Regions from separate parts of the Homo sapiens genome. Here all the other regions are linked to region 1. The links are contacts of gene promoters, found by promoter capture Hi-C in human tissues and cell types (Jung and others, 2019). All regions are on one chromosome and are shown on one strand. The core of a region is centred on a gene start or on the middle of the fragment in contact, and the rest is flanking DNA. Distances in the headings are between cores, read along the strand shown. Region 1 holds the start of USE1 (unconventional SNARE in the ER 1). Region 2 holds the start of MPV17L2 (MPV17 mitochondrial inner membrane protein like 2). Region 3 holds the start of CALR3 (calreticulin 3). Region 4 overlaps MED26 (mediator complex subunit 26). Region 5 holds the start of MED26 (mediator complex subunit 26). Region 6 overlaps TMEM38A (transmembrane protein 38A). Region 7 overlaps FCHO1-AS1 (FCHO1 antisense RNA 1).

What was found. The method cuts DNA at HindIII sites, captures the fragments that hold promoters and counts their contacts. A contact is called where the count stands out against the background at its distance.
Region 2: a contact is called between the fragment with the promoter of MPV17L2 here and the fragment with the promoter of USE1 in region 1, in 2 of the 25 tissues and cell types used here (heart left ventricle and spleen).
Region 3: the fragment with the promoter of CALR3 here is called in contact with the fragment with the promoter of USE1 in region 1 in 1 of the 25 tissues and cell types used here (dorsolateral prefrontal cortex).
Region 4: a contact is called between a fragment that was not itself captured here and the fragment with the promoter of USE1 in region 1, in 1 of the 25 tissues and cell types used here (dorsolateral prefrontal cortex).
Region 5: the fragment with the promoter of MED26 here is called in contact with the fragment with the promoter of USE1 in region 1 in 3 of the 25 tissues and cell types used here (dorsolateral prefrontal cortex, lymphoblastoid cells and spleen).
Region 6: a fragment that was not itself captured here is called in contact with the fragment with the promoter of USE1 in region 1 in 1 of the 25 tissues and cell types used here (dorsolateral prefrontal cortex).
Region 7: a fragment that was not itself captured here is called in contact with the fragment with the promoter of USE1 in region 1 in 1 of the 25 tissues and cell types used here (liver).

The regions. Positions count from the first base shown.
Region 1 is chr19:17,213,400-17,217,316 of GRCh38, reverse strand. It overlaps USE1 (unconventional SNARE in the ER 1), which reads right to left and starts at 1,960. Exons shown (of 8, transcript NM_018467.4): 1 at 1,810-1,960; 2 at 1,466-1,515; 3 at 1,247-1,325; 4 at 996-1,148. The coding sequence starts at 1,911. RefSeq lists a silencer at 1,567-1,636 and enhancers at 1,657-1,976, 1,740-2,320. The HindIII fragment of the contact is 58,541 bases long and covers 1-3,917 here.
Region 2 is chr19:18,191,577-18,195,493 of GRCh38, reverse strand. MPV17L2 (MPV17 mitochondrial inner membrane protein like 2) reads right to left here and starts at 2,276. Exons shown (of 5, transcript NM_032683.3): 1 at 2,026-2,276; 2 at 1,460-1,630; 3 at 641-717; 4 at 408-536. The coding sequence starts at 2,212. RefSeq lists an enhancer at 2,132-2,181 and a silencer at 2,572-2,751. The HindIII fragment of the contact is 8,354 bases long and covers 1-3,917 here.
Region 3 is chr19:16,494,070-16,497,986 of GRCh38, reverse strand. CALR3 (calreticulin 3) reads left to right here and starts at 1,820. Exons shown (of 9, transcript NM_145046.5): 1 at 1,820-1,948; 2 at 2,135-2,236. The coding sequence starts at 1,858. It overlaps C19orf44 (chromosome 19 open reading frame 44), which reads right to left and starts at 1,593. Exons shown (of 9, transcript NM_032207.4): 1 at 1,522-1,593. RefSeq lists enhancers at 1,491-1,920, 1,555-2,055, 2,056-2,556. The HindIII fragment of the contact is 12,389 bases long and covers 1-3,917 here.
Region 4 is chr19:16,609,469-16,613,385 of GRCh38, reverse strand. All of the region lies in intron 1 of MED26 (mediator complex subunit 26), which reads left to right. Among named protein-coding and RNA genes, the nearest start is that of MED26, 17 kb to the left of the region's middle. The HindIII fragment of the contact is 6,796 bases long and covers 1-3,917 here.
Region 5 is chr19:16,626,573-16,630,489 of GRCh38, reverse strand. It overlaps MED26 (mediator complex subunit 26), which reads left to right and starts at 2,286. Exons shown (of 3, transcript NM_004831.5): 1 at 2,286-2,618. The coding sequence starts at 2,547. It overlaps LOC105372296 (a long non-coding RNA gene), which reads right to left and starts at 2,058. Exons shown (of 2, transcript XR_936361.3): 1 at 1,242-2,058; 2 at 682-1,131. RefSeq lists enhancers at 1,073-1,122, 1,227-2,158 and silencers at 1,673-1,752, 2,003-2,262, 2,363-2,422. The HindIII fragment of the contact is 10,464 bases long and covers 1-3,917 here.
Region 6 is chr19:16,682,082-16,685,998 of GRCh38, reverse strand. It overlaps TMEM38A (transmembrane protein 38A), which reads right to left. Exons shown (of 6, transcript NM_024074.4): 4 at 3,491-3,578. Among named protein-coding and RNA genes, the nearest start is that of TMEM38A, 23 kb to the right of the region's middle. The HindIII fragment of the contact is 8,441 bases long and covers 1-3,917 here.
Region 7 is chr19:17,740,451-17,744,367 of GRCh38, reverse strand. All of the region lies in intron 3 of FCHO1-AS1 (FCHO1 antisense RNA 1), which reads left to right. Among named protein-coding and RNA genes, the nearest start is that of FCHO1-AS1, 9.0 kb to the left of the region's middle. RefSeq lists an enhancer at 214-508. The HindIII fragment of the contact is 3,992 bases long and covers 1-3,814 here.

The DNA of each region.
Region 1 (3,917 bases), core at 711-3,210:
TAAAAATACAAAAAGTTAGCCAGGTGTGGTGGGGGTGCCTGTGATCCTAGTGACTTGGGAGGCTGAGGCAGGAGTATTGCTTGAACCTGGGAGGCGGAGGTTGCAGTGAGCCGAGATCGCGCCACCACACTCTAGCCTGGGCAACAAGAGCGAATCTCCATCGCAAAAAAAAAAAAAAAAGTAAATGCCATGAAGTCACCCCCCTTGTCTTGTTCCCAAACCTGTCCCTTCTGACCTCAACCTCCTCACCTTCAGTCAGGACATGGGGAAATCCCATGACCTCTGAGCCTGTTTCCTCAACCTTAAACTGGTAACGACAACTCATATTTTTTTTTTTTGAGACGGAGTTTCACTCTTATTGCCCAGGCTGGAGTGCAATGGCTTGATCTCAGCTCACCGCAACCTCTGCCTCCTGGGTTCAAGCGATTCTCCTGCCTCAGCCTCCCGAGTAGCTGGGATTACAGGCGTGAGCCACCATGCCCAGCTAATTTTGTATTTTTACTAAAGACGGGGTTTCTCCATGTTGGTCAGGCTGGTCTTAACTCCTGACCTCAAATGATCCGCCCGCCTCGGCCTCCCAAAGTGCTGGGATTACAGGCGTGAGCTGCCGCACCTGGCCACAACAACTCATATTTTAAAAGATTGAGCTGATCCACATAAAGTGCTCAGAAAGGAACTTGTCATCCTCTTTTACGGCTGAAGAAACTTATGTGTCTTGTAAGTTGCAAGCCAGGACTCAAACCCTGCTCTTGGGCCAACTCTGGGGCTTAACCAGACACATTCCATTTTTGCCTTGTACCAAATTCCTATTCATCTAGCAAAGCCTTAGCCACAATGCCCCTCTGTTGGGCAGCCTTGTGTGATGACCCAGGGAAGAGATTGCTGGACCCCCTTAGGGTTCCTGTATCTGACAGTATTGTGGTTCTGGCTGCCTACAAGCATAGAACCCCTATTCCTGTCCAAGGGATTCCCAGGGACCAGGGAAGGAGCCCTACCGTGCCTAGTAGCTCACTCCGCATCTCGCTGGTGTACCGCGCCCGTGACTGCAGATGCACCGTCTTTGTGGCGGGCACTCGCTCTCTGGCTGTGGTTGGCACACGGCCAGGGGCCAGGAACTGGTTGGCCAGTGCTTTCTCTGAGGAGGAGGTCTGCAGAAATGTGGGAAGATAAGTCACTGGAGGGGCAGGTCCTGGGGACCAAAGTGAGCGGTGATGGGGGCTGAGGGGGCAGGGGCACCCCTTCTCACCAGCTTCTCGGCTTGCAGCATCCCCTTCAGAAAATCCACCTTCCAGGAATATTCATTGATCACCTCAGAGGCCGGTTTGCTGGAAGGCAGGAAGAAGAAAAACAAAACCTGTCCATGGTCCCCAGCTCAGGGAAGGGTCCCAGCTGGGATAGCGGTACTGGGATGTCCAGTAGCACAGCCACGTGCTGATGTGAAAGCCCTGAGGCTGCCTGCACTCACCTCGCGTGGACCTTCAGGGCCTGCAACATGTCCTCTAGGGCTCCCACGTACTGGGGAGGAAAAGTGGATTGTCACCCGGGGGTCTTTCCCATGTCCTGATCATGGGAGTCGGGGGGGCGGGGCCGACAAATGGGAGGGGTCAAGCGTAAAGGAGGCGGGGCCAGTGGGGGAGGGGCGGAGTCCCAGGGACGGGGGCGGAAGCTACAGGTGGACGTGGCGGGACTGACCGGAAAGGGCGCTGCCCGAGAGGCTACTGGGGCCGGGGAGTCGGGCCAGGTGGCTTCCAACCCTAGGAATCACCCCCCGGGAGTCGGGCTCTACGCGGCAGTGCGAGATCCCCTCACCTTCTCCAGGCGCCACTCGTCCGGGTCCCGTTTCTCCGCTGCCATCGCCTCGCAGCGGGATAGCAGCCGCACCAGGTTTAGCTCCAGCCTCGACGCCGCCATTATCGCCCGGCCCTACACCACCCCTTCCGCCGGCTCCATGTTAAGAGAGGGCGGAAGTGCCTTCAAGTGGCCTTCCGGGCGGATGTTTCCCCCGCGCTCGTTAGCTGGCCCATCTTTGTTTGGAGCGGAAGTAATATCTTGTTTTGAGACGGGGCGCTGGGCCGGGCGCGGTGGCTCAGGGCTGTAATGCCAGCATTTTAGGAGGCAGAGGTGGGAAAGGATTGCTTGAGGCCAGCCCGGGCAAGATAGCGCTACTCTATCTCTATTTTAAAAAAATAGGAGAGGCGCCACCCCATTCTTACTTAGGCGAATCACTTGCTTTTCCTCGAGAGCATGTTAACCCTTCGGGAATGATAGGACGACCGGGGTCTTCTGGTGTCAGACCCGCGTGCAGTGTGCCCTTTTGTTCTGTTTTGCCTGCTCAAAGTACCTCCCCGCACCCCACTCCTACCTGGATTCTTCCCAGTCGGAGCTATTTCACGTCCACACACCCTTCCCGATTTCTGTAGCCTGGGATTCAGGAATCCAAGGCTTCCCCCACCTCAGCAGGGCTCATCTGTATTGTGGTTATGGGTTTCCAGGTCACAGCTCCAGCTCTGATTCCATCCTCGGCCCTGGGAGAGTTTAACTTTTCTGGATCCGCTTCTTCCCCCGGGAAATGGACAGTGTGACAGTACCTGCCTCAAGGGGCACATGAGACAGCTCTGCCTGAGAGTGAGCAAGGTGGGGCTGGGTCCCCCCTAACGCCCAGACCCCCATGGAGAACCCCTTCCCAGCCCACCTCAGTACCTGGAAGCTGAGTACCCCTATGCCTTGCAGTGCCTCTCTTCTGGAGTGACAGGATGAGGGTGGGGGCTTCACAGGAACCAGGGCCTGGCATGCAGCCTTCATGTTTTCCCACACCTTAGGTCATCTGCACCTTGGTTACACCAGTGGGCCTGATGTCCTTGAAAAATATCATAGACGGGTAGGTGCGGTGGCTCACACCTGTAATCCCAGCACTTAGGGAGGCTGAGGCAGATGGATCACCTGAGGTCAGGAGTTTGAGACCAGCCTGGCCAACATGGTGAAACCCCGTCTCTACTAAAAATACAAAAATTAGCCGGGCGTGATGGTGGGTGCCTGTAATCCCAGCTACTTGGGAGACTGAGGCAGGAGAATCGCTTGAACCCAGGAGGTGGATGTTGCAGTGAGCCGAGATTGTGCCACTGCACTCCAGCTTGGGCAACAAAGCAAGACTCCGTCTCAAAAAAAAAAAAAAAAAAAGAAAATACCATGGAGGGCCAGGTGCGGTGGCTCACGCCTGTAATCCCAGCACTTTGGGAGGGTGAGGTGGATGGATCACTGGAGGTCAGGAGTTTGGAGAGCAGCCTGGCCAACATGGTGAAACCCTGTCTCTATCAAAAAACACAAAAATTAGCTGGGCTTGGTTGTGCGTGCCTGTAATCCCAGCTACTCGGGAGGCTGAGGCAGGAGAATCGCTTGAACCCGAGAGGTGGAGGCTGCAGTGGGCCGAGATCGCGCCACTGCACTCCAGCCTGGGTGACAGAGCGAGACCGTGTTTCAAGAAAAAAACCCACAACAAACAATGGAGACCAAACCCAGGGCCCATCAAAGGGGCCTCTAGAGGCTGGCAGGGCAGAGTCTAAATCCCAGCCATGCCCCTCCCAACTGTGTGGCCTTGGAGAAGCCCCTCAACCTCTGGCATGTGCTGTCTGAACTTGGGTTCTTCACGGTGCCCCAACCAATACCAGCCAGCCAGTTCCCACGACTCCCATCCGATGGCAGCCTGGGAGCCCATCTGTTCCTGTCCTGCTGGGCCCACCAGGAACTGGCCACCTCTGCTGGATGGGTGGCTGCTGCAGCTGACATTTAGGCTCCAGAGGCTGGGCACTGAATCAGGGAGGCCAGAGAGGGCTGCCAGGACAGCAGGCGCTCCTGGCCAAGTGAGGCTCTGCTGGGAGCTCCCTGTTTGGTGGAGGATCAAGACAGAACTTTGAGGACAG
Region 2 (3,917 bases), core at 1,027-3,526, 980 kb before region 1:
CATGATCTTGGCTCACTGCAGCCTCTGCCTCCTGGGTTCAAGCAATTCTCCTGCCTCAGCCTCTCAAGTAACTGGAATTACAGGTGCGTACCAGTAATTTTTTGTATTTTTAGTAGAGAAGGGGTTTCACCATATTGCCCAGTCTGCTCTCTAACTCCAATTTCAGGCGATCCACCCGCTTCGGCCTCCCAAAGTGCTGGGATTACAGGCATGAGCCACGGCGCTCAGCCACGGCTGGGTCTTAACTGCTAGTGAGGAGCTCTCCGCCAGCCCACTGTTGGGTGTGGGTTGTCAGGAGCACAGGAGACTCCCACCCTCCAGGGTGGCTGGCTACACTGCCACTTGGAGCTCACACGTGTAGCCCCCTGGGGAGTCCCCTGGGTGCCTGGTATGCCCTCCACACTCACCCGGTACTTCAAGTAGGACAGGTACGTGTCCCAGCCCAGCGTCAGGCCGTTGATGTAGGTGACTCGAAATTGGGGGGGCACGAAGAGGAAGTTCACGAACTGCGCAGCAGGCCACACGCACCAGTCTGCCTGCGGGGAGAGGCGGGGGATGAGGGGCGGGGCCAGAGCTGGGCGGGGGCGGAGCGGCCATCAGGGGGCGGGGCCGGACATGTGCAAGGGGCGGGTGCTCCCACCTTGTAGAATTCCCAGAACTTCTCCCGCAGCTCCTGGCAGCTCTCACCCACTGTCTGACCCTCCAGGCAGCCAAGGCCTGGGAAGCAAACCAAGAAATGAGAGTGTTAGAGGCCAGGAAGTACTGTTGAGACGACAAGATGGGCTGACGATGGAGGGGGCGGGGTTGGGCCCCTGAGAGCCCACGCCGCCCACCCCGGGCAGAGGGACAGGGACTTTCAGATGGGATGGACAGAGAATTAGGGTAGCTGGTGTAGAGACAAAACAGAGCAAGTCAGTCCCAGTGAGAGAAAGAGAGGTTATAAACATATAAACACGTGCCCCAATGGAGACACCCTGAAGTTGAGGGAGTTGTGTTACTTTTCCATCACAGACCAGGAAGCCGGGCTGGGAGGTGGAGAATGAGAGACTCCTCTATTAATACCGCTGTCTTTACCGAGCCTAGGGCTGGCACGGTTGCACCCCATTAAGTCTAGCCTCAATTTCTCTTCCTTCAGGCCTCAGAGCCTTTGCATTAGCTGTTCCCTCTGCCCGCTGGTTCCCTCTTCATGTCTCAACTGAGTGTGGTCCCCTTCTTTGGGAAATGCTCTCAACCTCCCGCCCAGGGCAGCCCCAACAGATACAGTCCTCGTCCCTCCTACACTCGCCAGCGTTCACATCGGCCGAGTCCGTCCTGTCCCCGCTGTGACCTGGCTCCTAGTCCAGGGCGACCCAAACAGGGGGCAAATTGGAAATGCACCTCTGCATCCTTCTTAACACAAAGCTGGCTCCACCCCTCCCGACCTATGAGAGGCAAAGCCTAGGCTTAGGAGGCTCCTTACCCAAGAAGTACCAGACGCCCAGCAATGGAGAGGCTACCAGCTGATCCACGAGGACCTTCTTGAGGACATTTGGGAAGCCTCGGAGGCCAGACGCAGGGAATAGGCGGTCCAGCGACAAGTACCAGTAGTGCAGGAAGGGACCCATGCTGCAGCCCACCGCAAACATGCTCGCTATAAGAGTGTAAGTCAGGGGGCTGGGTCGGGCCGGCAAGTTCCTCAGTCCATTCCCTCTCTCCCTCCCTGGCTAAGGCCTGGGTAAGCCCAATGCCATCCCGGAGCCTCAGCCTCACCGGGAAAACCGGAAGAGCCCACCCGTGCATTCTTCCACTACAAGCCCCACCAGGAGGCGCGGCTCCAGAGGCTCCTGGGTAGTGGGCAGAGACCTCCGGGGGTTGGGAGGTGATGGAGACCCAGAGCTGCGGGGAGACAGACACCCGGGGAGAGGCGCGGTCAGGGCAAGGGTCCTGCGGGGGACTGAGGCCACGGGTCAGGGGTCACGGCCCGCAGTCGGGTGTCGGGATCAAAGGTCGCCCGGGGTGAAGGACTAAGCAGCGTGGCGTCCTCACCGGAGCGCCGTGGGTCGAAAACCTGGCCGGGCCGGGCGCGGATCTCCCAGGACTGGCGCACGCCATCACCGGCCGCCATGAGCGCGCCGCAGCCCAGCGTGTTAGTGACGAGCAGCGCGCGGCCCTGGAATAGAAGCTGCCCCGCGGATAACAGGCGGCGTAGCCGGCGCCAGCCACCCCGCGCCATCGCCCTCAGGAACCAAGGAACCGGCGCGCCGCTCTGCTTTCGCCGCGCCGACCAGTCGCGAGTCACTGTCGATCCCAAATTGCCCGCCCCTCCGGCTCCCCGGCCAATCGCATAAGGATCTTCAGTCCGCAGGTCCGCCCCGAGCCGCGACGCGTTCACCAATCGCAGGCAGCCTCGGGGAGCCACATTGCCCGGCCCGAAGAGTATTGACCAATAAAAGGCAGGCGTTCTATCCCAAGGTCGAGCCCCCAACGACCTCCCGAGCTTCACGGACCAATCGGAAAAAAGAATTGCGTTACGTCCCGCATGCCGATTGGTAACGTTGCACTCTTGTTTCCCCGCCCCTTTCTGTGCCAGCCTATGGGAAACCGTCGCAGCCCCGTCCTACCGACACGCCCAGGACGGCACTGGCCAGTCGCAGACCGGCGTCACGCTGGCAAATCAGTGACCGTCGTCCCGCCTCCCGCGTTAGGGTTGGTCAATCTTAGGCAGTTACAACGCCTTCTGGCCTGGTTGCCCTACGTATTTCCAGATTCTCCTGGACTTAACCAGAAGGGATGTGATCTGTGGCCAGAAACAATTATATCCTAATTATACCGTTCCCGTAGGGAACAATTATTTTTTTTCTTTTTTTGAAATGGAGTCTCGCTCTGTCACCCAGGCTGGAGTGCGGTGGCGCGATCTCGGCTCACCGCAACCTCTCCCTCCCGGGTTCAAGCGATTCTCGTGTCGCAGCCTCCCAAACAGCTGGGATTACAGGCACGGGCCACCACGCCCAACTAATTTTGTATTTTTGGTCTAGACAGGGGTTTTGCCATGTTAGCCAGGCTGGTCTCGAACTCCTGACCTCAAGAGATCCACCCGCCTTGGCCTCCCAAGGTGCTGGGATGATGATAGGCGTGAACCACCGTAACTGGCTTAAAAAATGATTTTCAATGGAAATCCCTATGCATTCTCTACTAGAGTCGCAAACTACTGCCTGTGGGCTGTTAACTGTTGAAGGTGTGCAGGTTCTTGGCATCTTGAACAAAGAATTGGACAAAGTGCACAAACAAAGCAAGGAAAGAATGAAGCTTAACAAAAGCAGAGATTTATTGAAAACGAAAGTACACTCCGCAGGGTGGGAGCCAGTGGAGCATACGGACTCAAGAGACCTGTTTAAGAATTTTCTGGGGTTTAAATGCCCTCTAGAGGTTTTCACTGGTTACTTAATGTACGTCCTATGTAAATGAAGAGGATGAAGTAAAGTTACAAAGTCATTTACTGGATGTATGCCCTCTTTAAATGGAGAAGATATTTCCTGTCATAGCTGAATTGTTTCCATTTGATTTGGCCTTATGTTCCCTGCCTCCAGACCTATTCTCCTGCCTCAGGGCCAAATCCTGTCCCTGCCTGTTTTGTGCTGCTCATGATGAGCTAAAGGTGTTTCTTACATTTTTTAAATGGTCAGTCAAGAAGGTGGGGATTGGCCAGGCGCAGTGGCTCACGCCTGTAATCCCAAACAGTTTGGGAGGCGGAGGCAGCTGGATCACCTGAGGTCAGGAATTCAAAACCAGCCTGGCCAACATGGTAAAACCCCATCTCTATTAAAAATACAGAAATTAGCCAGGGGCGTGGTGGTGGGCGCCTGTAATCCCAGCCACTCGGGAGGCTGAGGCAGGGTAATCTCTTGAACCCGAGAGGTGGAGGTTGCAGTGAACCGAGA
Region 3 (3,917 bases), core at 571-3,070, 720 kb after region 1:
TACAGACACACATTGCCATGCCTAGCTAACTTTTTGTAGAAACAAGGTCTCACTGTGTTGCCCAGGCTGTTCTCAGATTCCTGGGGTTCTAGAGATCCGCAGCCTCAGCCTCCCAAAATGCTGAGATTACAATCCCACATCATCATACCTGGCCCCATAATATTTATTACTCCTAGTAGACTAAAACGGAAAACAATGTAACTATCCATTAATTAGTGAATGGATTACAAACTATGGTCCATCCATACAGTGTAATACAGTTCAGCAATTTAAAAAACAAATACTAATATAACAGCACGCAGGAATCTCAAATACATCACGCTAAGGGAAAGTAGCCAAGCCGGGCGCAGTGGCTCACGCCTGTAATCCCAGCACTTTGGGAGGCTAAGGCGGGCGGATCACGAGGTCAGGAGATCGAGACCAGCCTGACACACATGGTAAAACCCCGTCTCTACTAACAATACAAAAATTAGCGGGGCGTGGTGTCATGCGCCTGTAATCCCAAATACTCAGGACGCTGAGACAGGAGAATTGCTTGAACCTGGGAGGCGGAGTTCGCAGTGAGCCGAGATCGCACCATTGCACTTCAGCCTAAGTAACAGAGCGAGAATCTGTCTCAAAAAAAAAAAAAAAAGGAAAGAAAAAAGAAAGTAGCCAGACACTAAACTCCACACACCCTATCATTTCATTTGTAAGAACTGTCAAGAAAAGGCAAACCAATAAACTCAGAAAGCAGATCGGGCCGGTGCTGTGACTCACGCCTATAATCCCAGCACTTTGGGAGGCCAAGGCTGGCAGATTACGTGAGGTCAGGAGTTCGAGACCAGCGTGGCAAACATGGTGAAACCCCATCTCTACTAAAAATACAAAAAATTAGCCGGAGTGCAGTGGCATGATCACAGCTCACAGCAGCCCTTGACCTCCTGGACACAAGCAATCCTCCCTCCTGCCTCAACATCCTGAGTAGCTGGGACTACAGGCGCGTGCCACTACACCTGGCTAATTTTTTATTTTTATCTTTTTTAGAGATGGGGTCTCGCCAGGTTGCCCAGGCTGGTCTGGATCTCCTGGCCTCAAGTGATCCTCCCGCCTCTGCCTCCCAAAGTGCTGGGATTCCAGGCGTGAATCACCGCGCCCGGCCTGACGCAAAGTTCTAAAGCTGGATGAGCTGGATGGTGGCGACGGCTTCACAACTTTGTAGATTTACTAAAAATAACGGAGTCGTCAGCTTAAAAGTGGCGAACACTATGGTATGTAAATGAAGGCTCAATAAAGTTGTTACAAATCAACAAACCAAAACTTGAAAACCCTGGCGCCCCTGAGACCATCCTGCTCTTCTCCCCAGCTATGAAGCGACCCGCGCAGGACCATGCTCCAATAGACCCCAGACAGGGAAACTGAGGCGCGGGACCATCCTGCAGCGGCCCAACCAGCTCAGCCCCGGAGAAGGCCCCATTTCCCCGTATCCCCCTCGCGAGCCCGGACGCCCAGCTAGGTCACCTCCCCACCAGCCCTGCCGACCTCTTCCCACGCCGTCCATTCGCAGAGGCAGCCGCCACATTCACGCCTGAAGGAGCGGTTGCCCTGGGCAACAGAGCCAGAGCAGAAGAGACTACATCTCCCGGGAAGCACCGCGCCCCGCAGACCAATGGCGCCCCGAATCACAATCGCGGGGTGTCATGGGAGCGGTAGTTCCGGGGCGGGCCCAACGTGCCCCGCGCCGCAGCGACCAATGGGACCCTCAGGTCATAATCGCGAGTTGTGACGGGAGTTGTAGTTTCGGGACGCGCCTGAAGAGCCGCAGAGAGAGCTGGGAGCTAAGGGGTGGCGGCGACCGGAAGCGCAGTGCACACCCCCATGGCCCGGGCTTTGGTCCAGCTCTGGGCCATATGCATGCTGCGAGTGGCGCTGGCTACCGTCTATTTCCAAGAGGAATTTCTAGACGGAGGTGAAGGGGCCACGCCCGTGGTGGCGGAGGTGTAAGCTCCCCCATCTCCGCCCCCTAAGGCTGGCCAGAGTCGCCACGGGGTCCACGGCAGCGAACCCTCGAATCCTCGAGGGTCCCCTTCACCCTTCCCTTAGCCCAAATTAACCATTATCACCTCTAACCGGTGTTATTTCCCCTTCCCCACAGAGCATTGGAGAAACCGATGGTTGCAGTCCACCAATGACTCCCGATTTGGGCATTTTAGACTTTCGTCGGGCAAGTTTTATGGTCATAAAGAGAAAGATAAAGGTTAGTGTAGAATCAGGACCAAATTGAGCCTAATGTTACATTTCCATAGCAACCTCTCTAGGTAGTTGTGGCACAGCCAAAACGCTTTTATTCCCGTTTTACAGATGAAGACATTAAGGCAAAGGTAGAACTTAAGGGGCTCCTTTCCTTGTTTTTTTGTTTCTTCTCTCCTTTTTTTTTTTTTTTTTTTTTGAGACGGAGCCTTGCTCTGTTGCCCAGGCTGGAGTGCAGTGGCGCGATTTCGGCTCACTGCAACTTCCACCTCCCGGGTTCAAGCAATTCTCCTGCCTCAGCCTCCCGAGTAGCTGAGACTACAGGCGCGCGCCACCATGACCGGCTAATTTTTGTACTTTTAGTAGAGACAGGGTCCACGTTGGCCAGGCTGGTCTCGAACTCCTGACCTCATGATCCACCCACCTTGGCCTCCCAAAGTGCTGGGATTACAGGCATGAGCCACAACATCCAGCCTCCTCTCTCCTTTCTTTATTGCCAAAGATTCCTTTTTTTTTTTTTTTTTTTTTTTGGTAGTAGGAGTCTCGCTCTGTCGCCTAGGCTAGAGTGCAGTGGCACGATCTTGGCTCACTCAAACCTCCGTCTCCCGGGTTCAAGTGATTCTCTTGCTTCAGGCTTCTGAGGAGCTGCGATTACAAGCGTGCGCCACCATGCCCTGCTAATTTTTTTAGAGACAGAGTTTCACCACATTGCCCAGGCTGGACTCAAACTCCTGGCCTTAAGTAATCCACCTGCCTCGGCCTCCTAAAGTGCTGGGATTATAGGCGTGAGCCATGGTGCTTGGCCTATTATCATTATTATTACTTTTATTGGTATTAGGTCCCCTGAAGTCCAAGGAGACATATTCAGCTTATTTGGTATAATAAAATCATACTTGAAGCACTGTCAAATATGCAATGGTATTTAACCTTCTTTGGATTATATTTATATGAATGTGTTATTAGTAGGCATTACCAAAATTGCCCCTCTTAATAGACACTAGTCAAGTGCATTTGAGGATCAAGGGCCATGCCCCTCAGAAGGAAAAGGTTAGTGGGTACTTTTTCTCATTTTAATTTTCGTATTAAAAAGAAAAATAGGCCAGGCGCGGTGGCTCATGCCTGTAATCCCAGCACTTTGGGAGGCCTTAGGCGAGCGGATCATGAGGTCAGGAGTTCAAAACCAGTCTGGCCAATACGGTGACACCCTGTCTCTACTAAAAATACAAAAATTAGCTGGGTGTGGTGGCTCATGCCTGTAGTCCCAGCTACTCGGGAGGCTGAGGCAGAAGAATCACTTGAACCCGGGAGGCAGAGGTTGCAGTGAGCAGAGATCATGCCCCTGCACTCCAGCCTCAGTGACAGAGTGAGACTCCATCTCAAAAAAAAAGAAAAATATGGTCAGGCACGGTGGCTCACGCCTGTAATCCCAGCATGTTGGGAGGCCAAGGCAGGCGGATTACTTGAAGTCAGGAGTTTGAGACCAGCCTGGTCACCATGGTGAAACCCTGTCTCCACAAAAATACAAAAAAGTTAGCCAAGTGTGGTGGCGCACAACTATAATCCCAGCTAATTGGGAGGCTGAGGCAGAAGAATCGTTTGTACCCAGGAGGCAGAGGTTGCAGTGAACTGAGATTGTACCACTGCACTCCAGCCTGGGTGACAGAATGAGACTCCATTTCAAAAAATAA
Region 4 (3,917 bases), core at 775-3,274, 600 kb after region 1:
CTTTGAGCCATGTCAGCTCCAGTTGATGAGGTCTTTTCTTGTGGAGAAGGGAGGCTTTTCATTTCTTATGAGTAGGTTGATGAATAGGTTTAACAATCAACTAGAAATCCTCTAAGCCTCCTCTCCCCTCCTCCCAAAGAAAGAAAGATGGAAAGAAAGAAAAGTATTTAATATGTAAGAGTTTGGGAATTAGACCTGGATTCGAATCTCTACAGCTCCGTCTCCAAGTTATATGTCCTTGGACAAATCACATCAAATATTTATCAGTGCTATTAATACTCTCTATAAAGTGAGGACGTCCCTATCCTACTAAAGGTAAACAGTGCCTGAAAGGAAATTTAGTACCTAGTAGGTACTAAACATGTATAAGCCCCTTCTCGACTTTTCAGGAGCTAGGGGGTATTACACCCCTAGATGAGTTTGTAGATACTGAACTTTGATTTTCACAAATGCTGTTCTTTTTCAAGGGTAGTCTTTCCTTTAGTGTCAGCAAGGAGCAGTTACAAGACAACATTGCATAATTTACACATTTCTAAATGCTCCCTCGGGGGAAAACAGGAAGAAATTGGTTGTAGAACAAAATCCCAGACGTCAGGGTCCAGAGCCTCTTCCTTGGAAGAGGTGCTTAGGCTGAAATTCACAAGCAGGTTTAAAAGCTGCCTGTACTTTTCCAAATCTCTCTGTGCTGCAGTTGCAGGTGGGGATGATCAAAATACAACTTTGTGCACATGAAGCTGCCTTTCAGAAGCAATAGCCAATATTCTTCCTGTGTAGAGACATACTTTAGAATCAACAATTGTGGCTAGGCATGGTGGCTCCAGCCTGTAATCCCAGCACTTTGGGAGACCGAGGTGGGAGGATCGCTTGAGGCAAGGAGTTTGAGACCAACCTTGGCAACATAGTGACACCTTGTCTGTAGTAGAAATCACAAACATTAGGTGGGGCTGGTGGCATGTGCCTGTAGTCCCAGCTACTCGGGAGGCTGAGGTGGGAGGATCGCTTGAGCTGTGTAGGCTGAGGCTAGGGTGAGCCAAGATCACGCTACTGCACTCCAGCTTGGGTGATAGAGCGAGACCCTGTCTCAAGAAAAAAACCAAACACACAAAAAGTAATCATAATCATAAGATCTCCAAGATTTTACTGGACAGAAAAATGTTGACGTAATTGATACCTGGAACATATACCTTGCACAAAAACATGTGGGCAGAATGGCCTTGGTGGGTAATCAAGACTGGATGTTAAGCCAGCGGGTTGCTGTTTTATCTCTCCCGGCCTATCTCCTACCCCACCCCCAACAACCTGCATCACCCTGTTGGCAGGAGCTCAGAGCCACTGTCACCCTCTTGGAAACTATTTATGTAGCAAGAGGCATAGACATGCTCATGTCCTGTGACCCAGTAATTTTACTCTTGGAAGTTTATTTACAGGCTGAGCTTGGTGGCTCACGCCTGTAATCCCAACACTTTGGGAGGCCAAGGTGGCAGGATCGCTTGAGGCAAGGAGTTCAAGACCAGACTGACCAACATAACAAGACCTTGTCTCCATTTACTTCTTTTTTTTTTAATGAAGTTTATTTTTAAACAGCATGGGAGAAGCTTCAGAATCATGGTGCATCCACAGAGTCAAATAGCCTATAGCCGAAAGCGTGATTCTGAAGGCTCTATAGAAAAATGGGCAGGCCTTACCATGAGGGGGAAAGGAGTGGTTTTGTGACTCAGGCATCTGGATAGGCTGGATGCCTAAAGAACTAGAACTTGGGGTAAAATGGAAGCACTTGTGTTGGTTGGGGCAGGGGGAATGGGTTGGTTTGTTTTCCCCTATGCTCCATTGTCTTTTCAATTAAACTGTAAAAAAATGAAAATAAAAGTAGGCTGCTCTAGCCTGAAGAGCACTTGAGCACTATAGAGAGCAATCGGCTGTGGAGTGGATTGCGGGCCTCTATGTACTGCAATCAGTGGAGAGGATTAGTTCCCCTCTCATACGTTTCCGGAAGGTTCAGAACACTAGTGTGCAACATAACACTCCAGTCAAGGCCACCAGTCATGTTCTTCATGTTCCCAGAGGTCCATCCCACCAAAAATGACTGGACAACACCTGGTTTTCTCCACACAGTCAGTGAAGCCACACCCCATGGCTCTGCTAAACACCCTGGAGTGGTCCATGCCTCTGCCTTCCTCTCACCTTAGTCACCTACTCCACCTGTGAGGCCCGGGGGCTACTGCCAGGATGCATGTTCTCCAGCCCTCCTCTGCCCTCCATCTCGAGTCCAACCCTGGCCATTTCCCTCTTGGTCCTGTCCCTTCCATACCGATAAGCAGATGACACCACTGTCACTTCACATCCTTCAGTGGTTTTCCATCACCCTTAGAATAGACGCCCACATTCCTTATTGTCATGATCTACACATGCTACAGGCCTTGGGCCCTTCTTTCCTTTCTCAGCTTAACTTGAACCCTTGCCCTCATTCTTGTGGGAGAACCTTCTCCCTCATCCAGTTCTTGTGACAGTCGGACTTCTTCAGGCCTCTCCTGGCCACCCATTATACAGAGCCCATGCCCTCCTGCTGTCACACTGCTTTCAGCCTTCCATGTCATGGCACACATAGGAAACAGTGGCATCCACAGGGTGCAATGGGTAATTTGGAGGCGAGACTAGGGGAAAGTGCATGTGCTGTTTCTACCATAGAAATTATAAGGATGGTGGCTCACGCCTGTAACCTGTAATCCCAGCACTTTGGGAGGCTGAGGCGGGCGGATCACCTGAGTTCGGGAGTTTGAGACCAGCCTGACCAACATGGGGAAACCCCATCTCTACTAAAAATACAAAATGAGCTGGGCGTGGTGGCTAATGCTTGTAATCCCAGCTACCAGGAGGCTGAGGCAGGAGAATTGCTTGAACCTGGGAGGCGGAGGTTGTGGTGAGCCGAGATCACACCATTGCACTCCAGCCTGGGCAACAAGAGCAAAACTCAGTCTTGAAAAAAAAAAAAAAGAAATTATAAGGAAAATAAAATACAGGGTGTTAGGGAGCATAGTTAATACTGAACTTGTGTTGAATAACATTATGATTATTATTATTTTTAGAGGCAAGGTTTTGCTTATTATTATTATTTTTTAGAGACAGAGTCTTGCTCTAAAAACTTTACTTGTCCAGGCTGGAGTGCAATAGCGCAATCATAGCTCACTACAGCCTTGAGCTACTGGGCTCAAGGGATCCTCCTGCCTCAGCCTCCCAAGTAGCTGGAACTACAAGTGCTAGCCACCACACCTCACTAATTTTTGTATTTTTTATAGAGACGGTCTCGCTGTGTTGCCCAGGCTGGTCTTGAACTCCTGGCCGCCTTGGCATCCCAAAGGGTTGGGGTTACATGTGTGAGCGACCACACCCGGCTTGAATAACATTACTGAAATAACATTGCCTTTTTTTTTTTTTTTTTTTTTTTTTAAAGAGTGCTTGTGTCCAAGAACATAACTTTTATATGTTAGGGTGTGGGTTTTGTTTTTGTTTCTGTTTTGCTTGACTTTGATAATTGTTGTGGAGAAATTTTGTTTGCACAAGAAGGTGATAAAACTTGGAAGCATTTTTTTTAGTAAACATTGAAAAATTTATGAGTTGGCATTTCTAAAAAATCCAGATTCTTTAATCTTTTCATTTATATGTAATGTTGAAATACAATAATGCAAATGGACTTTAGTTTCATTCAGACTCTATTTCAAGCACTTCAAAATAATGAAGCTCTAATTTACATAAGGCATATACTAAGGTATAGACAGTGGTGTGCTGGTGAAAATTTGACAACCAGCTCTCAGGAAAAAGAAAAGAAATCCATACATATACATATGTAAATATGCATGTAAGTTTATGAGTTTTACTAGTATAAAGGATGGGTGGCATATAATTTGCAAATAATAATGAAA
Region 5 (3,917 bases), core at 1,037-3,536, 590 kb after region 1:
CTTCTTAGTTTTTAAAAAGTGGGTAAGTTGAGTACTTTCCAGATGTTTGTTTATTTTTCAAGACAGTCTTGCTCTGTCACCCAGGTTGGAGTACAGTGGCGTGATCTCAGCTCACTGCAGCCTCTGCCTTCTGGGTTCAAACAATTCTCGTGCCTCAGCCTTCTGAGTAGCTGGGATTACAGGTGTGTGCCACCATGCCCGGCTAATTTTTGTTTTTTCAGTAGAGAAGGGGTTTCACTATTTTGGCCACGCAGGTCTCGAACTCCTGACCGCAAGTGATCTGCCCACCTCGGCTTCCCAAAGTGCTGGGATTACAGGCATGAGCTACCAGGCATGAGCCACCGTGGCTGGCCCCACATTTTGTTTGAGACAGAGTCTGTTGCCCAGGCTGGAGTGCAGTGGTGTGATCTTGGCTCACTGCAACCTCCGCCTCCCGGGTTCAAGCAATTCTTCTGCCTCAGCCCCCTCTAGTAGCCAGGATTACAAGTGCGCGCCAGCATGCCCGGCTAATTTTTGTATTTTTAGTAGAGATGGGGTTTCACCATGTTGGCCAGGCTAGTCTCGAACTCCTGAGCTCAAGTGATCGCCCACCTCCGCCTGCTGAAGTGCTGGGATTACAGGCTTGAGCCACCACGTCCGGCCCAAATGTTTCTTAAAATAACCTGACCCATGCAAAATAAATTGCCTCCTATGTAATACTTTATTAAAAAAAAAAAAAGATACTGTACATCCGAGTTAGAAATTAAGAGAGAGGCAAGACCAGAATATGCCTGAGGAAGGCTTTGCTTATTTTGCTTATCAGAAATGAGAGAATTATCTCCGAATGGGCCAGTTTCCAACTTGGACCATGTACACCATGTACACAATGCACCGCATTCTGGGAGGGGCGAGGTTGGGAGCAGTAAATGACAAGTGTTTTGCCCGTGTTTCTTTTCTCCTCCAAGTGTGATGTAAAACTTTTCACATGTGCAGAAGCACGCAACCATAGCCACGTGCAGAAGCAGCCGTTTTTGCAAATGAAAATATTTCCCAGAAGCACAACAAATACAAGACTAACAGGTGTCGGGCAGCTCCAAGGCACACATGTGGTTCTCATCAGCTGTCTTCCTCCTGTTTTAAATCTAGGTCTTCCTGTAACAGTGGGAAAAAAAAGATTTCTCCCGAGGCCGCCGAGCTTGCCTTTCCATCCCGTCTCACAAGAGCATTTCCAACAGAGCTCCCAGAGAGAGGGGAGCAATTACCAAGGCAATAAACAGGGTGGAGGGAGGAGGGGCGCCCTTAAACTTGACATCTGCGGTTCTGGGCTTAACCCCGAAGTCTAGGTGACCTTGGGCCTCCGTTTCCTCCTCTGTGACGTGTTTGGTTAAGAGAATGAGCATCTCAGTTTTACAGAATCTCAAGGCAGAGGCGGGTAGAAGGGTCTTTCAATCACGGGGTTCTCTGCCGGTGGGGGGGCGGGGGGACTGTGCCCCCACAAGGGACGGCGGCAATGACTGCAGATTGGGGGAGGGGGCGCTTCGGAGGCCAGAGATGCCGCTCAACTTCCGACAGATCGGGGGACCCGCCCCGAAGACAGAGCGATCCCGCCCAAATGCCAGTGGTGCCGAGGTGGAGAAGCCGCCGCGTAGACGCAGATTTGCAACCTCCGGCTTTCCCAGCTACGGCGGGCGGCTTCTGCCAGAGGCGCTTTGCCGCCTCACGTTTTCGCGATCGGGGTCGCGCGTGGCGGTGCAGACCCCCGCCCTGCCACCACACCCATTCCCACACCCTCTGAGGGGCGGGGGGGCCGCGGCGACACCCCCGGACTCCGATGACCCTTCTGCGCGCAGAATCACAACGTGGACGTCTGGTTCCCTCGCCCTCACAAAAAACTCGGCAGCTGCTCAGCCTGCGACTCCCGTCCCCCAGTCACGCGCCGGGAAGGCTCTCCCAGAGGAAGGATTTTCCCGCCGCCCTCCCCGCCCCGAGGTAGCCGCTGCGAGCGTCCGGGTTCAAGGACTCTTTGCGCGCGCGCTTCCGTCAGAAAGCCCCGCCCCGTGACCTGGACGGGGGCCGTTGCCCCGCCCAACCTCCTCCCAACGGCTGCCTAGGCCGGGCGGCTGGGCGGGGCGTCACGGGCGGACGAGTGCGCCTGCGCGCGCTTGCGCGGAGGCGCGGGGCGTGGCACACGGGCAGCCCCGCCCAGGCCTGGCGTCTCCGCCCGCCCCATCTCCCAACCTCCTCAGCGTGGCGCCGACGCTGCGTGCGGCGCGGACTACCCAGAGTACTCCGCGCGGGGGCAGCTCACTGGAGTTTGGTTCTCGAGGCGGCGGCAGCGAGCGGCGGCGGCTCCGGCGGCTCCTCCTCCTCCTTTGGTGGCGGCGGCGGCCCGGGACCGAGACCCGGCCCCGGCTCCCCTCTCCGCCACCCCGCGCGCCCCCAACCCCCCGGCGCCGCGGGGAACATGCGGCTCCGGCTCCCGGAGGCCGGCGAGTGAGTGACCCCCGTCCCCCGCCTCAGCCCGCCCGCCCGCTGGCCCGGCCGCAACCCCCCGCCTCGCCCAGGCAATGACAGCGGCTCCGGCGTCTCCGCAGCAGATCAGGGACCGGCTGCTGCAGGCCATCGACCCCCAGAGCAACGTAAGTACCCGCCGCGCGAGCTGGGACGGAGGCCGCATGGGCCCGGGACCCTCCCCCTCTCCTGTACCCCTCGCCCACCGGGCTTCGGGGGACCCGTCTGGCGCCCACCTCCCCTCGAGGGCCGCTGCCATCCCTGCCTCTCGCTTCTCGGGCCCGGGCCGGGGGCAGGTCGGGCAGCCCGGCAGCGCTCGGTACGTGAGGCCGAGGCTTCCGTGCGGCCTGGGCGGAGGAAGCAGACGGGGGAGCTGAGGCTAGAGTTTTTCCTCCCTTTCTGCTCCAGCTCTACGACCCTCACTGCTCTGGACGAAGCTTCTCTGCCTCGCCCTCCCTCCGGGACCCGAGACCCCCGGGAAGCCCTCCCGGAGCGGGAAGGGGAGGGAGAAGGGCTGTGAAGCAACTGGTGTCCGGGGTATGACTCGGGGAACCTATGTCTCCCATGTCTTGGCCTCCTGGGTGATCAGGGAAGTCCTTCTTCCCCCTCCTCTCGGCTGGCAGCACCTTCCTGGCTTCGGAGAGAACCCCCAGTCTGTTTTGCCCCTGGCCGGGTACCTAGGGTACGTGGAGAGTCTGTCTCCCTTCTGTGACTAGACACGCCTTTGCCAAAACCCTCTTGGGGTCGCTGCCGACGATAGATGATCTCGGGGAGGGTGGGATCCTTCCTGTTGCCTTTCTGGGCCTCAGTACCCATTGCGTCTCTGACCAAGCCAGAGCTCCATTTTTTAGGTAGTGAATTAAAGAGGACTTTTCTCTCCCGTTTACCCAAGAGCTCTGTTTCAGTAGGCTCTTTCCCTCACCTGGGGGTCTCAGCCTGGTGGTTTTTGACCCAGACTGTCGGGGTTAACTCCAGAGTGTCGCTTCCTCGGGTGCCCCTTTGCTGAGGCTACTGTTTGCGGAGGGACCGCCCCCTCCCCTTCCGTGTGTGTGTGTGTGTTGTTGCGGGGGTGGGGGGGTGGGGGGGAAGACTGATCTATTCTCATATTTTCTCCAAGAGTTTCTTGGCAGTAGGGGTCATTCTTCCCGCGGCAGGAGCAGGGCGGTAGGAAGATGCAGTAGCATCCAGGTATGAGGGGAGGCCCTGCTTCCCAGGAAGTGGCCATTGAGATCACTTTTTAATGTGCTGTGAATGGAAGAAAAATATCATCTTTGGCTTGGCCAGGTAACTCAGGTTTCTCTCACCGTAGGGGTTTTTGCTTTCATTTTTACATGAGCTTGGCTGATTACTCTTAGCAATATGCTTCACTCTGATGATGTTTTGGGAATAATTCACATTGGCTTATACAATTTTTGGTTAAGACTGAA
Region 6 (3,917 bases), core at 591-3,090, 530 kb after region 1:
GAGAGACAGTGTTTCACCATGTTGGCCAGGTTGGTCTCGAACTCCTGGCCTCAAGTGATCTGCTCGGCCTCCCAAAGTGCTGGGATTATAGGCATGAGCCACTGCGCCCAGCCACAGCTTCTCCTGATTGTAAGGTGGCAGGTTGAGATGGTGTCATCCTATGCATGATGGGTTAACCTGGTCCAAGGAAAGATCTGGCCTTTGTCCAGCTCCTGGAATATGCCCTCTAAGCCCTTGGAGTGTCCTGCCTTGATAAGACTGTCTTTGTTTGCCTGAGGACGGCCTTGGGCCACACCAGGTAGTAACAACGTAATTTATGGTGGGGGTCTTGGGCCATGCAGCATCAGGTGGACCTCTAGAGGGGCTGAAGACTGAGGTCAGCCACACAGGTGGTTAGCTAGTTCTGAGCCACAATAAAAATCCTGGATACCCAGGCTCAGAAGAGCTTCCCTGGTTGGCAGTACACCATGCATGTTGTCACACATTGCTGCTGGGAGAATGAAGCCCTGTCCACATGATTCCACTGGGAGAGGAAAACTGGATATTTTCACCTTTTCTTTCCTGTACTCTGCCTCATGCACATTTTGCCCCTGCTGATTTCTTGTTTGTGTATGAGTCAGAGTCTCATTCTGTCACCCAGGCTGGAATGCAGTGGCATGATCTCAGCTCCCTGCAACCTCCACCTCCTGGGTTCAAGTGATTTTCCTGCCTCAGCCTCCCGAGTAGCTGGGATTACAGATGCCCGCCACCACGCCAGCTGATTTTTGTATTTTTACTAGAGATGGGGTTTCGCCATGTCGGCCGGGCTGGTTTTGAACTCCTGACCTCAAATAATCCACCCGCCTCAGCCTCCCAAAGTGCTGGGATTACAGGCATGAGCTACCACGCCCAGCCAACCCCTGCTGATTTCGTTTTATTTATTTATTTATTTATTTATTTATTTATTTACAGAGACAGGGTCTCTCTCTATCACCCAGGCTGGAGTGCAGTGGTCTGATCATGGCTCACTGTAACTTCAAACTCTGAGGCTCAAGTGATTCTCCCACCTCAGCCCCCCAAGTAGCTAGGGCTAGAGTTATGTGCCACTGTGCCTGCTTAATTTTTAAGTTTTTTTTTTTTTTTTGTAGAGATGGAGTCTTGTTCTATTGCATAGGCTGGTCTTGAACTCCTGGCCTTGAGCAATCCTCCTATCTCGGCCTCCCACAGTGCTGGGATTACAGGTGTGAGCTGCCTCTGCTGATTTTATTCTATATCTTGTCACTGTAATAAATCATAACCCTGAATATAATGGCTTTGCTAAGTTCTCTGAGTCCTTCTAGCAAATCATGGAACATCAGGATGATCTTGGGGATCCCCCATCAGCTTATTTCCCCCAGAAAATGTGATTACAACATGCAGAGTTTTCCTTAACTTTTATTTTTTTCCTTGCAAAATAGGTTTAAGATATTTTTATTTGTTGCAAAAGACAGACCTGTGACTTCTATTCCTGATGTCTGTCTCTCATTGCTTTTTTTTTTTTGAGACAAGGTCTCGCTCTGTTGCCCAGGCTGGAGTACACTTGTGTGATCACAGCTCACTCCAGCTTCAACCTTCTGAGACCAAGCGATCTTCCTGCCTCAGCGTCCTGAGTAGCTGGGACTACAGGCACACACCACCACACCTGGCTAATTTTTTTTTTCTTTTTTTTTTTAGAGATGGGATGTTGTAATGTTGCCCAGGCTGGTCTTGAATTCCTGGTTTCAAGCAATCCCCCTACCTCAGCTTCCTGAATAGCTGGGATTACAGGGGTGGGCCACCATGCCCAGCTTCACTGCATGTATTTAATAATCCTTCCTTCCTCTCTCTCTCTCTCTCTCTGTTTCTTTCTTTGAGACAGAGTCTTGCTCTATTGCCCAGGCTGAAGTGCAGTGGCAGGATCTCGGATCACAGCAACCTCTGCCTCCCGGGTTCAACCGGTTCTCCTGCCTCAGCCTCCCATGTAGCTGGGACTACAGGCATGCCACCACCCCTAGTTAATTTTTTTTTTTTGAGATGGAATTTCGCTCTTGCTGCCCAGGCTGGAGTGCAATAGCGTGATCTCGGCTCACTGCAACCTCCGCCTCCCAGATTCAAGTGGTTCTCCTGCCTCAGCCTCCCAAGTAGCTGGGATTACAGGCATGCACCACCACACCCAGCTAATTTTGTATTTTTAGCAGAAATGGGGTTTCTCTATGTTGGTCAGGCTGGTCTCAAACTGCCGACCTCAGGTGATCTGCCCACCTCAGCCTCCCAAAGTGCTGGGATTACAGGCGTGAGCCACCGTGCCCAGCCTAATGATGATAATTCTCTCTAATATTTCCAAAGCACTCACCAGGTTCCAGGGCCAGGTGATTTAAATGCATGATCCCTTTTTTTTTTTTTTTTTTTGAGACAAGGTCTTGCTCTGCCACCCAAGCTGGAGTACAGTGGCATGATCCTAGCTTACTGAAGCCTCGAATTCCTGGGCTCAAGTAATCCTCTTGCCTCAGCCTCCTGAGTAGCTGGGACCACAAGTGCATCCCACCATGCCTAGCTAATTTAACTTTTTTTTTTTAATATAGAATAGGTCTCACTATGTTGCCCAGTCTTGTCTTGAACTCCTGGACTCAAGCAAACCTCCAGGCTTGGCCTCCCAAAGTGCAGAGATTACAGGTGTGAGCCACCACACCCAGCCCCCAACAAGGTCTTTTAAAAATGCACTAAACTGTCCAGGGCAGGGTGGCTCATGCCTGTAATCCCGGTATTTTGGGAGGCTGAGGTCGGCAGATCACTTGAGGTCAGGAGTTCCAGACCAGCCTGACCAACATGGTGAAACCCCATCTCTACTCAAAATACAAAAATTAGCCGGGCATGGTGGCACATGCCTGTAATCCCAGGTACTCAGGAGGCTGAGGCACGAGAATCTCTTGAACCTGGGAGGTGGAGGTTGCAGTGAGCCGAGATCATGCCAGCATACTCAAGCCTGGGCGACAGAGCAAGACTCTGTCTCAAAAAATAAAAAAATAAAAAACATTAAGCTAAATGCAGTGTGGGATCCTGCATTGGGTCTTGGATGCTGTCACCTGGCCTTGTCCACTTAGCTCCAGATATGCTCCCAATGCACACTCCATATCCCATGCATACCCTGTACCCTGACCCCGCACACCCAGCAGCACTGCTGCTCTTCTGTGATTTCACAGTTGGCAGAGATGCTGGCCTCTGTTGGGAGGCTCCTTCTTGGCCAGTGAACTCCTGCTCACCCTTCAAAACCCCAATCAGGTATTGCCTCCTTCCTGCAGCTCTGCCCTCCCCAACCTCCACACTGAGCAGAGCTATGGCTCTGCTTTGAGCTTCCCCAGTCATAGCCTCTGAAAGCTCCTGAAAGGCAGAGTCAAGGGTTGAGGCCTCTCTAAGTTATCAGCAGCATCCAACTCAGGGTCAGGCACCCGGACATACAGGAGGCATGGAGGGAGAGGTGGAGTGGGATACTCACAAAGACATGTGCAGGATCTCGTTGGTCTCTGGCTTCCAGACCCCTCGGAGCAGCTGCTCAAAGTTGGACATGAGGGCGACACCAGAACCTACAGGACAGGGTGCTTCTGAACAAGCCCACCACCCCCAGGTCTCCTTTCCTCTTGTTTGAATTCCCAAGGAAGCAGTCTCTCCACTCCCAGAATCTTCTCTAGAAGGACACTGAGCCTGGGGGTGTATGATCATCAGCTGCAGGTGGGGAAACTGAGGCTCAGAGAGGACAGAGCCTTGCTGAGGATCATATGGCAAATTCAGAGCAAAAGCCACCTAAAGGAATCAGTCATGTCCCCACCTGCAAGGCAGGTCTTCAACCTGGGGTTGTCTGTCCTGATGCCCCTAATCCAGGACCCCAAGCTGTGTATGAGGCTTCCAAGGCAGCCCCCACCCGC
Region 7 (3,917 bases), core at 569-3,068, 530 kb before region 1:
GTATATATGTATATACACATATCTGTACATATTTTGCTGTAACTATCTATATTGGGTTGAACATGAGCTCAGCCTCCTCCCCTTGCCTGTCTGTGATCTTCTACTTTATCCCTGAGAAACCTGGCTCCCACTGTCAGCCCTCCAAAGTAGGAGGCAGGACTCAACTCCAGAGGTGGGGCTGCGACATTGGACCAAATTGAGGACTAGCTATTATAAAACAGACCCCCAGGGAAGGGGCTTTCCTTAAGACATGCCCACTGGTGTGCCATGTCAGTTTACCATTGCCATGACAACATGCAGAAGTTACCACCCTTTTCCATGGCAACAACCCTGATGACTCAGAAGTTGTCACCCTTTTCCTGGAAGTTTCTGCATACACTGCCCCTTAATTTGCATATATATACATATATATATATATATATATATATATATATTTTTTTTTTTTTTTTTTTTTTTTTTTTTTGAGATGGTATCTTGCTCTGTTGCCCAGGCTGGAGTGCAGTGGCATAATCTCAGCGCACCGCAACCTCTGCCTCCTGGGTTCAAGCGATTCTCCTGTCTCAGCCTCCTGAGTAGCTGGGATTACAGGCGCACACCACCATGCCTGGCTAATTTTTGTATTTTTAGTAGACACGGGGTTTCACCATGTTGGCCAGGCTGGTCTCAAACTCCTGACCTTAGGTGACCCACCCGCCTCAGCCTCTCAAAGCGCTGGGATTACAGACTTGAGCCACCACGCCTGGCCTTCATTTGCATATAATTAAAAGTGGGTATACATATGAGTGCAGCTGTGCCTGTGAGCTACTATTCTGGATGGACTGCCTATGCACAGTGGTCTTGCTCAGCAAGGAACAGCACCTCTGATGCTGCTCTACACGGCCATTTCAGTAAATGCCGCTGTTTAGGGCCAAGCGCGGTGTAATCCCAGCACTTTGGGAGGCTGAAATGGGTGGATCACCTGAGGTCAAGAGTTCGAGACCAGCCTGGCCAACATGGAGAAACCCTGTCTGTACTAAAAATACAGAAATTAGCTGGGCATGGTGGCTCATGCCTATAATCCCAGCTATTCGGGAGGCTGAGGCTGGAGGATTGCTTGAGTCAGGGAGTTGGAGGCTGCAGTGAGCTATCATCACACCACTGCACTCCAGCCTGGGCAACAGCGAGACTCTGTCTCAAAAAAAAAAAAAAAAAAAAAGCCAGACCAGACCTGGCGGTGGGCACCTGTAGTCCCAGCTACTGGAGAGGCTGAGGCACGAGATTTACTTGATACTGGGAGGTGGAGGTTGTAATGAGCCGAGATGGTGCCACTGCACTCCAGTCTGGGTGACAAGGCGAGACCCTGTCTAAAAAAAAAAAAAAAGAAAGAAAGAAAAGGCCAGGCATGGTGGCTCACACCTATAATCCCAGCACTTTGGGAGGCTGAGATGGGCGGATCACCTGAGGTCAGGAGTTCAAGACCATTCTGGCCAATATGATGAAGCCCCATCTCTACTAAGAACAAAAAAATTAGCTGGGTGTGGGGGCAGGCACCTGTAATCCCAGCTACTTGGAAGGATGAGGCAGGAGAATTGCTTGAACCCAGGAGGCAGAGGTTGCAGTGAGCCAAGATCATGCCATCACACTCCAAGAGCTAAACTCCATCTCAGAAAAAAAGAAGAAGAAGAAAATGTTGCTGTTTACCAGCCTGGGCAACATGGCCGAACCCCATCTCTACAAAAAAAAAAAAAAAAAAAAAATACAAAAATTAGGCCAGGTGCGGTGGCTCAAACCTGCAATCCTGGCACTTTGTGAGGCCCAGGTGGGAAGATCACGTGAGCTCAGGAGTTTGAGACCAGCCTGGGCAAAATGGTGAAACCCTGCCTGTGCCAAAAATACAAAAAATTAGCTGGGCTCCATGGCTTGTGCCTGTAGACCCAGCTACTTGGGAGGCTGAGGTGGGAGGATCCCTTGAGCCCAGGAGGCAGAGGGAGCAGTGAGCGGAGATCATGCCACTGCACTCCAGCCTGGGTGACAGAGCAAGACGACCCCATCTCAAAAAAAAAATTAGGTGGGCATGGTGGACTGTGCCTGTGGTCCAAGCTTCTCAGGAGGCTGAGGTGGGAGGACTCCTGGAGGCTGCAATGAGCCAAGATCATGGCACTGCACTCCAACATGGGCATGAGAGTGAGACCCTATCTTAAAAAAAAAAGAAAGGAAAAAAGAAAAAGAAAAGTTGCTGTTTAACACAATTGACTTGCCCTCAAATTCCTTCCTGGGTGAAGCCAAGAACCCTCTCAGACTAAGCCCCAATTTTGAGGCTTGCCTGTCCTATCACCTTCACGTGCTCAGCTGTTCCATTGAAGTGCATGTGTGTAGCAATTCCAGAATGTTTAACTGGGACCCACAGTGGGGTTTCAAACAGAAACTGCTCACCTTTTTCTCCAGCTTGAAACACTCCCCAGACTCCCCAGCACTCTTGGTAAAAACTGCAAACCTGTCTCAGCAGCCCATCATGCTTATGGGGTCCGGCCCTCCCTACATTCCTGTCCTCACCTCTCTCTACCCACCTCAATGCAGGGGGCACAAAAGCCGTTCCACCTCAGGGTGCATCTGACTGGTAACTTTCCTACCTTGAGCTCTTAGTTCCTGTTTGGTCCCCTCCTCCAGGAAGCCCTCCATCTGGCCTCCCAGGCTCCTTTCCCAACTTTAGCTCTTATGGTCCCTTCCTCCAGGAAGCCCTCCATCTGGCCTCCCAGGCTCCTTTCCCACCTTTAGCTCTTGTGGTCCCCTCCTCCAGGAAGCCCTCCTTCTGGCCTCCCAGGCTCCCGTCCCACCTTTAGCTCTTAGTTCCTATGTGGTCCCCTCCTCCAGGAAGTCCTCCTTCTGGCATCCCAGATTTCCTTCCCACCTTTAGCTCTTAGTTCCTATGTGGTCCTCTCCTTCAAGAAGCCCTCCAGCTAGCTTCCCAGGCTCCTGAAAACCCATCTGGTTTTCCTTCCAAGCCAGTGCTGATCCCCCAGGACTGGGATGTTATGTTAGGCATTGCCCCCTCCCCCTCCAGCCTGGGAGCTTCTTGGGGGCCCTGGCCCTGGTACTATCCACACCTGTCAGGTGAGGTCTGAACTGCATCCACACTCCCCCAGACACTCCACTCCCAAGCCTGGGCCAGGGGAAACAGAGCTCAGAGAAAGCAAGCTACTCTTGGAAGTCACACAGCAAACACACGTCAGAGGCAGGACTTGACATGGGTGTGCTGGTACCACAGCTCACACCTGCCCTGGGCCCAGATCCCAAAGGATGCTGTAGGGGGTGGGGAGGACAGGATGACATAGGTCAGGCCTGTCTGGAGTGCCTGGGGCCGAACAGGCCAGGGAAGAAAACTCAGGGGTCCAGTTGCCAAAACAGCCCAAGGCTCCCTGCTCTTCCTGGAGGTTCAGGCCAACTTTCTTATTTCTGAGACTGGGGAAGAGGAGAAGCCCAGAGAGGTTAAGGAACATTCCCGAGGTCACCCAGCAGTGCTGCCAAGCTGGGGCACAACCAACATTTCCCAAGAACCTGGTGTGTGGGTACAGGTACTGGGTCCTGTCCTGGGCAGCGGGCACCCAGAAACAACCAAGATGGAGAGGGTGCAGCTCTCATGGGCTCACAGTTGGGGGAATCAATATAAACATATTGACATATAAACATATAAACAAGTAAGAGTCTGCTAGGGCTATGGATTAAAAGGAAATACAACAGGAAGATGTGCTGGTGGACAGGACGACACTTTATTTATTTATTTATTTATTTATTTATTTATTTATTTATTTATTTTGAGATGAAGTCTCGCTTTTGTCCCCCAGCCTGGAGTGCAATGGTGCGATCTCGGCTCACTGCAACCTCCATCTCCCGAGTTCAAGTGATTCTCCTGCCTCAGTCCCCTGAGTAGCTGGCATTAC